Linked DNA regions of Homo sapiens: regions 1 and 2 are each linked to region 3. The links are contacts of gene promoters, found by promoter capture Hi-C in blood cells and fetal thymus (Javierre and others, 2016). All regions are on one chromosome and are shown on one strand. The core of a region is centred on a gene start or on the middle of the fragment in contact, and the rest is flanking DNA. Distances in the headings are between cores, read along the strand shown.

Region 1 (2,732 bases), core at 66-2,565, 170 kb before region 3:
GCCACAAATTCCATGAGGGGAAAGGACTTGGCTTATCTTGTTCATTTTGGTAACCCCAGGGCCCAGGCACACAGTAAGTAAGCTAAGTAAATATTGCTAAATTAAACAATAACCTTTTGGAAATTTTTTCCATTCATAAACATTTTTATGCAAGTGGAGTCATATTCTACCTACCATTTTGTAACCTACTTTTCTGTATAGCAATGTATCATTAGCATTTTCCAAATCAATAAATGTTCTTCCATATTATTTTAGTAGTAGCATGGTATTCAGTTATAAAAGCAGACCATAATGAATGTAAATGGTACCTTCATGTTATATATTTAGGTTTTTCTTTTCTAAATTTTTATTCTCCCAAACAAACTTTATATTCTTGTACATATATGGGTGCACAACTTTTCAGGTCAAAGGGCACACATACACATTTTCAAGGTGTTCCATGCATCCTACTTTCTAGTAGGTATACACATTTCTAGCACAATGAATTATACTAGAATGCTCATTCCATGAAGCAAGGATTTTGTTCATTTATTTCCTGTACCATAGTGAATCTAGCCTAGAGCAATGCCTAGCACAGAGTAGGTTCTTAATAAATATTTGTTGAATTTGTTTCCTTTTGCCCTCACCAATAATGTTTAATGCTACTTTAAAAAGTTTTTTTTTTCAGTCTGATAGCAAAAATAATGGTTCCTATATTTACAAATTGTAAACTTATCACACCCTCTGCCCCCAAAATGCTTAGTAAGCCTGCTGGAATTGGACCCTAAATATTTAAAAACTGTTCTCAGAACCAAAGCTAAACAGAAACAAGGTCTTGTGGAGCCAGAATCTCTGGCTTCAAAGATTCCCTAGCATTCGACATACTATCACCTGTACCCACTTACACATCGCTTAGAGCCAAGCATCCCATCCCCATGGGAGATTACTGCAGATAAAGGAAGGCAATGAGATTCGTGGTAAAAGCATTCATACTGCCATTTTTCTCCACGAAGAATACATCTTTGGTTTGTTTTTGTTTTTGTTTTTTATACAAAGCTTACCTACTGACCCAGAAAAAAAGAGTTTTTTGTATTTTCTCTGAGGATTTAGACGATGTAGGCTTCTGTTAGCCAACCCCATGGGAGAAGACAATGGCATCATCAGACTTCAAAGATGTCTTGAAGAGTGCTCCCTGGGGCTCTGTGGGTGCACTGCTGTGTGTGTGTGTGTGTGTGTGTGTGTGTGTGTGCATCTGTGTGCGTGCGCGTGCACGTGTGTGTGGCTGCAGTCAGGGAGTGCCAGTCAGGAAGTAGCCAGGAATCCCTCCAAAAGAATCTAAGTGGGAGTTTTCTTCTGTGTGTCCTTGCTCAGCTTAGCCTGCTGGGCTTTGAGTAGTTAGGAGGCCACTGGACACACTGTGAGATGAAAGGAAGTTGCATTGACTTCCAGGCCACTTTCATCTGATGCCACAGGAAGAAAAAAAAAAATAGAATGGGTCCCCGATTCAATGGAGAAACAAGACACTGGAAATGCAAATATTCCCAATGTGCTATGCAAAGGAGCCAAGCCAGGGTCCCCACACCTGTCTTCCCAGGGAAGGTCGTGATCCACACACAGGAAGCTTGGGTGGGTGGGTCTCATCATCAAAGCAAAAAGCCTTCCCTTTGAAGAATTCATAGAAACAAAATGTCAATGAAGAGTCACACACCCAAGAAACAAACACTATTCAGATGGAGTAACAAGCTTTTACTTGTAGAACACACTCTTAATTTATCAGAGCACCTTTCCCCTGGCATTGTAATTGTTGTCTTACAAACAATCCCTAGACAACAGCAAAGACAGATGGTATCTCTATCTTTAGAAAATAAACTTTTAGGTAATAAACTTGAGGCTCAAAGAAGTTATAGTTCTTTACCCAGATCCTAGAAATAGTAAATGGAAGAGCTGGAGCTTAAACCAGGCAGTGTAGAAAGTCTCTTCGTGGTTTCACTAGATAAAACAGCAGCAGCAGCTGTGGCAATATTTATTCCTATTTTTTTTCAACATCCATGTTCAGGATACCTTCTCATTAATATTTGAGCTAGACTTTAAAGAAGATTTCAACAGTGGTTAAGATCAAGGCCTCAAGAGTCAGACTGCTTGAATTTGAATCCCAACTTCACCCCTAACTAGCTGTATGACCTTGGAAAAGTCACTTAATTTCTCTGTGCTTATTGCCTTTTCTGAAAAATATGGATAATAATAGTATCTGTCTTATGAGATAACTGTGAGAATTAAATGAATTATTATATCTAAATAATGTAGAACAGTGCCTGGGACAATAAGTGGTATGGAGGTGCTGGCTAAGATCACCATTGGGCCTGCCTGTTGTTGCATGTGGCACACAGCACCTTCTGCGCCTTCCACCTTAGTACACACCTAAGGCTGGCCTGCCTTAGCCCCCACTGCATTAGTGGCCCTGATTTGATTAAATGCACCCGGTCTCTCCTACCTGCCCTAGAGGTGAGCACTTGACGAAGAGAGAGGAGATGACCCATAGGTTGGCTTGGTATGTTGAAATGACCTGGGCAATCAGACCCTCCTTTGATGCCTGAACTAGGCTACCCAATTAGCAGTGAGAACTGAGGATGAGAGAGTGGGCAGAGTCTGAGAGAGACAGCATCTGTCCTTTATTTCCATCTTCACATCTCTACGTAAGCCACCATTGTCTCCTGCCAGGTGACTTCAGTGACCTAATGGGTCCCCCTGCTCCC
Region 2 (2,955 bases), core at 427-2,926, 190 kb before region 3:
CCAATGATAGTTACATTACAGACAGGAACACCAGGTCATAAAGTCCTGGTAATTGTCTTTGCTATACTATTTTGACGGTTAAATAATATAAGGCATACTAATGTGATAAATGGGCACCAACTGAATGTAACACTTTACTGTTGGTGTTATTGTGGTGGGTTTAGTTCCTGCAGAGATTTTGCAAACTCCTTGAGGTCAGGAATTATGCCTTAAACTCTCATTGCCCCACTGCAAGCAGCACAACGCTGGGCATTTCAAAGCTTTCCATAAATCACCGTGTGCTGATCTTAAACAGGCTTTACGCCAGGTAAAGACTGGGGAGGAGATGCCTGGGAGAAAACTGTTCAGGGAAAGATTTCAGCTGGTCGAACCCGGTGTTGTGTCTGCTCCAAAAAGAGTGTGAAAGAGCAACTTGTTGGCAAGCGGCCTTCCTTTGTGAGTAGCAGAGCTCATTTTTTCTCAGTCCCAGAGGCAAAATCAGACTTGGCTTAAGGCCGTGCTGCTGGGCTGTGGCTGTGTGTGATCTGAGGAGAGTGGGAAGCCAAAGTCCCAGCCAGGGCTGGCCCTCTGTGGCCACCAGCAGCCACTGGCTGTGCCTCTACTGTGATCCCCAGCATGGAGCCTTTGAACGGACCCTGTTATGTGGCATATACAGTGGATGAGGCTAGAAGCCTGGACATCTAGTGATTTCTGACCTTGAGCCTGAGACCTAGGAGGCCTTCTCTGTAGAGTCCAGAGGTAGGACCTGTGGCCAGTGGCACCGACTCCTCACCTGCACCCGGGACCAGGACCAGACTCCTTAGCTGTGCATTCAACATTCTAAAACGTGCTTCTCTTTGGTCTCCTCTCTCTGGCCCATCTCCCCTGGGAGATGGGCACTGGGAAGACCCTACATTTACACCACATCCCTACCACTTCTGTGCCCTGCAACCCTCCTCACCATTTCCTGCTCCTTTTTGGAGACATTCTTCTCACTCTTCTCTGGGCCAAATCCACCCTCCTCTTCTAGTTCTTCCTACCAACTCTCTTACAAGCCTGACAGTTGTAAAGCAGGCCTGCGGGGAAGGTGAAGGTGAATTTGAGGCTAAACCTCTCTGTCATGATCATGGATTTTGGTGTCAGACACACTTGGGATCAAAATCCAGTTCTGCCACTCACTGCTGAGAGACCTGGGGCAGGAACTTCATCTTCTGTAGACTCAGTTTAATCTGTAAAATGGTGGTAATAGCTGTCCCATGGTATTGTGGAGAGAATTAAGAGATGCTGAATATAAATAATATCTCAGGCCCATAGCCAGTCCCTAGTAAATGGAAGCCATTCTAACGCCAAGCCTTCAGATCATAGGTGCTTCTCAAATGTCCACATGGCCGGGCCCCCAATCTGCTCAGGACACCCAAGGGTGAAGCATGTTATTGGCTTCCCAGGGTTTCCTAGTACTATATCATGGAGGCATCTGGGGATTGTGGTGTGATGCTTAGCCAAGAGGCTGCCCTCTGCACCCCCACTTCAGGGAGGCGAGGAAGGGGAGCAGTGTGTGTGTGTGGCAGAGATGGCATTGATTGAGAACTGGCAGACCTGGCTTCCCTGCCAGCGCTGCCATGTTCCAGTGTCTAACCTATAGATGTTGGCTGAATGAGAGGAAATTACATACTCTGTGAGCCTCAGTTCTCTGATCTACACGATGGGGGAATAGTACCTTTTGGGGTTGGTGTGGACACTATATGAAGGAGCTGGAATACTGCAGCTATTTGGAGCCATATTCTAGAACCAAACTGCCTGGGTTCACATCCTAGCTCTGCCACTTACTGGCTCTGCAGTTTTGAACAATTACATCACCTTTTAGTTTGACTTACTCTTATAAAAAGTAAGGACAATGTTAACGTCTATCTGACAGTGCTGTCAAATATGTTTTCATATATGAAATACTTAAAACATTGTTTGGCAGTAGGTAAGTACTTGATAAATATTATCTTCTCTTTTATGATGATGAGAGTGCCTGTTACAGTGCCTGGCATGTCTTAGGGTGCCCAGTAATGAATTTCCTGTCATTCTTCTGCCTGAATCTAAGGGAATATGGTGCCTGAGACTCCATCATTAAGTATTTTTTATTTCCTAGTGTTTGACAATAATATGGAAATGCCCTAATTTGGGGATAATCATACTCTGTGTATTGTTCAATTCAGTTATACGATAATTGGCCATTCTGTGCCAGGTGCCAGGCTGAAGCATTCTCATCAGTGATGCGAAATTGAATGGCATGTGATCTCTGCCTTGGGATCACAGTTTTGTGGGGGGTTTATTTATTTGTGCATTTATTCATTTTCACATTTGTTTGGAGCCTATACCACAAATGTACAGAGTACAACAGGTGTTATGATGAGGTCTGAAGGTACACAGGAAAGGGCAGAGAAGTTTTCCTTTAAGGCGATATTTGAGCCAACCTTGAAGTCTGTGCCAAAGATGGTCAAACCAGGGCATGGGAATGAGTAATGATGGGGGTGAGAAGGACTTGCCAAACAGCATCAAATTTGGAACAAAAGACTGTTGGTTTGGAAGTGCACATCGTTTCTTCCATTGTCACTCACCAAGCAGGCAGCGTGTGCTGGCACAGTGCTAGGGGCTAAAAATAGAGGGGCATAAGACCCACTCTCTGCTCTCCAAATGCTCATAGTCTGTTGGGGGCACACCTTGTTGTCCAGGCCGGAAGGTTGTGCATCTTCCTGCAATCATCCTGCTCCCTCCCCAAGCCTATCAATCACCAAAGCCAGACGGTTACTCAGTGTTGATCACTAAGGGTATATATGGGTGATGTAGTTTGAATATTTGTCTCCATCCGTATCTCATGTTGAAATGTAATCCCGAGTACTGGAGGTGGAGCCTGGTGGGAGGTGAATGGGAGGTGATTGGATCGTGGGGATGGATTTCTTATGAATGGTTTAGCACCATTCCCCCTTG
Region 3 (2,716 bases), core at 158-2,657:
AATTGAAAGTGAGATGTTTCATTTGGAAGATGCAAATCCATGGCAGCAAAGGTGAGACACAAGGAAGCGAGGCAAAGAAGGATGCAAAGCCACACTAAGTGGTGTGTTTCCTTGATGGCTATTATGTCACAAACAGCCATGGAGACACCCAGAAGGTCACTGCACAAGACCTTTCAGCATGACACGTGGGATTCAGCTGGATGAGCGGCAAGGCAGACTGTCATGAAGCAGTCCATGGAGAGAGGAAGAAGGAATGTATGTGTCCTGCTCCCTCTCAACTCCTATTTTCCACTGGTCAAAGTTTTCCTAGTGGGGGTTAACTCTTCTGCACTTCAGGATTGTATCACCCAGTCCTAATGGCAGCCTCTCAGGAGACCAGTTCCCACCCCATGCTGGAGAGTGTTTTCATCCAAATCTGGAAGAGGTAAGAGGAGCCAGAAACTATAGGCATGGGGCTAGGAAGGGCCCATACTCCAGGACTTGTAGCCGATCTGACCCAAGTGGCAGAACTGCCTGAGCTCAAGTCAGGCAGGGCAGCAGCCTAGGCAGAGTGAGTGGCAGAATGTTCTGGAAGCAGGTGGCATCAAGAGCCTTTGAGAAGGCTCATCAGATTTGTGTTTGATGCACTGTGTGACCTTGGACAAGTCACTGAATCTCTCTGAGCCTCAATGTCCTCAACTGTGAAATGGGGCTGATCATACCTATCTATCTCCCAGATCAGAAATAATATTGGTCCCAGTTGAGTGTTGTGCCTGGCACCTAGCAGGCACTCAATACAGAGGAGCCATATTTGTAGAGTTAGGAGTTCTGACTCAGTTCTGGTGGCATTAGCATAGCTGGATTTCCTGAGGAAAGGCCATTGAGTTTTGGTCAGGTAGAGCTCTTGAGCTAGAGTGTGGGGTGACTTGGTAGCTCTGAAAGGAAGGAGAAAAGAAAGAGAAAATGCCACCCAGAAAGGAGCTTCATAGTATCTGTCCATTGCTTTGTCCTCACACAAAACTGGCTATATAATTTGAGGGGCTCACTGATAAATGGACATGTGGAGCCCCTTGTTCAAAAATCATTAAGAATTTCAAGATGGGGCCAGCAGAGTATTGAATCAAGCACAGGGCCCTCCTGAGCATGAGGCCCTGTGTGATTGCAGAGGTCACACACCCACAATGCCTGCCTTACACTTACACGTTGCCAGAGTGCAGTATTTGGCGCCAGAGCTTGGCAATGTTCTATTCTCCCCAGCAACCTCTCTGCCTAAATGTGCCTGGCTTGATGGTGTCTTGGAAACATCCAAGGAAGGAAAGGGATGTTGGAGCTGATTGAAAATACCTCTACCTGAATTCCAAGTGGTGTCATGAACAAGTACATACATAATATAGCAGTTAAGTGCAAATTTGGAATCTGTATGTATGTATAAAGTTGCTGTTGACATGGTTCTAGTAGTTACAGGAGTGTTGCCATGGTGACTGGCAGGGCCAGCTGTTGTTTCATTTCCCCCAAAGAATTGTATGGTAATAATAGACCCCTGGAGAGTCCTCCTGGGACAAGGAATGATGTTAAAAATCTGCCAATTAATGAACAGGTAGTATAAACTGACTTCATCCTCATTTGTTGTAATTAACAGGATTTTACAGGATTTTGATGAGAAGTGGCTAATTTGGTATAGAAATGTGGAGGGTAGACTACTTTTGGAGCCTGGGTTTGAATCTGCACTGTGTCACTAAATAGCTGCATCACTTAATTTCTCTGAGCCTGTCTCCTTATTTAGAAAATGGGGATCATTAAACCAAAGTTGGAGGAACATTGAAAATAAAGGATGTGAAATGCTTAGCTCAGTTTCTGGAGCATTATAGACAGATACTACATGGTTTCTATGATGCCGATGATATTAATGAAATCATCATCATTATAATCATCATAAAGCTTCCATTTATTGAAGGCTTCCACCTATATGTCCCTATGTTGTGTACATTATCTCATTTAATCTTTATAACAACCCTATCAGTGAGTCCATTGTTATCCTCAAGTTATAGATCAGGACACGGAGGTTCAGAGATTTGCCTGAGGTCACACAGCTAGTAAATGACAATGTCAGGATTCAAATTCAGGCAGTCTAACTCCAGAGCCCAGGCTTTTAACCCTTATACACAGTGCCCCTGGGATGAGGATTAATAAATACGTGAAGCCTAAGAGACATGCATTTCTGGATTTCAGTTGGCTCTGAAAGGTTGGTCCTTGATGAAATGGAAAGTATGTTTCCTTTTATAGCAAGGGCAGTGGTGGGGTGGGATGAAGGAGGGAGATTGTTTTAATAAGCACATGCTGATGGGGGCTGCTCTGTGGACCAGCCTTGCTCTGTCTCAGGGGTTCAGCCTTCTCTTCCTGAGGCTGTCCTACTGATTCCTCTGGAGTTGCAGCAACTCCTACCCTGACCTGATCCATGGGTCAGAATCAGGGTCAGGATGAGTCAAGGCTGACTCATTGACTATCCACTCTAATGGCCCTTCCTCCCCAGGGCTCTATGGATGCTGACCTTTGTCCTCTTCCAAACTAAAGAAAAACAAATAAGCATACAAGCACAAAACCAGCCCCTTGGACTTCCTGCTAATCCTATTTGGTTATTTAAGTGTGGCAGGTACCTTCTCTCCTCAGGGCCTTTGCATATGTTTCTACTCCTTCCTCCTGGGCTTCTCTTCGCAGTTCTCATTCTCAGTCCCATTTA

What was found. The method cuts DNA at HindIII sites, captures the fragments that hold promoters and counts their contacts. A CHiCAGO score of 5 or more calls a contact.
Region 1: a contact is called between a fragment that was not itself captured here and the fragment with the promoter of NAV2-AS5 in region 3, in 1 of 17 cell types (endothelial precursors). The highest score is 5.6, in endothelial precursors.
Region 2: a contact is called between a fragment that was not itself captured here and the fragment with the promoter of NAV2-AS5 in region 3, in 1 of 17 cell types (endothelial precursors). The highest score is 5.5, in endothelial precursors.

What each region holds. Positions count from the first base shown.
Region 1 is chr11:19,335,083-19,337,814 of GRCh38, forward strand. No RefSeq gene overlaps it. Among named protein-coding and RNA genes, the nearest start is that of E2F8, 96 kb to the left of the region's middle. The HindIII fragment of the contact is 565 bases long and covers 1,034-1,598 here.
Region 2 is chr11:19,316,207-19,319,161 of GRCh38, forward strand. No RefSeq gene overlaps it. Among named protein-coding and RNA genes, the nearest start is that of E2F8, 77 kb to the left of the region's middle. The HindIII fragment of the contact is 2,836 bases long and covers 259-2,955 here.
Region 3 is chr11:19,505,822-19,508,537 of GRCh38, forward strand. It overlaps NAV2-AS5 (NAV2 antisense RNA 5), which reads right to left and starts at 1,408. Exons shown (of 3, transcript NR_049725.1): 1 at 1-1,408. It also overlaps a transcript of NAV2 not described here. The HindIII fragment of the contact is 5,962 bases long and covers 1-1,915 here.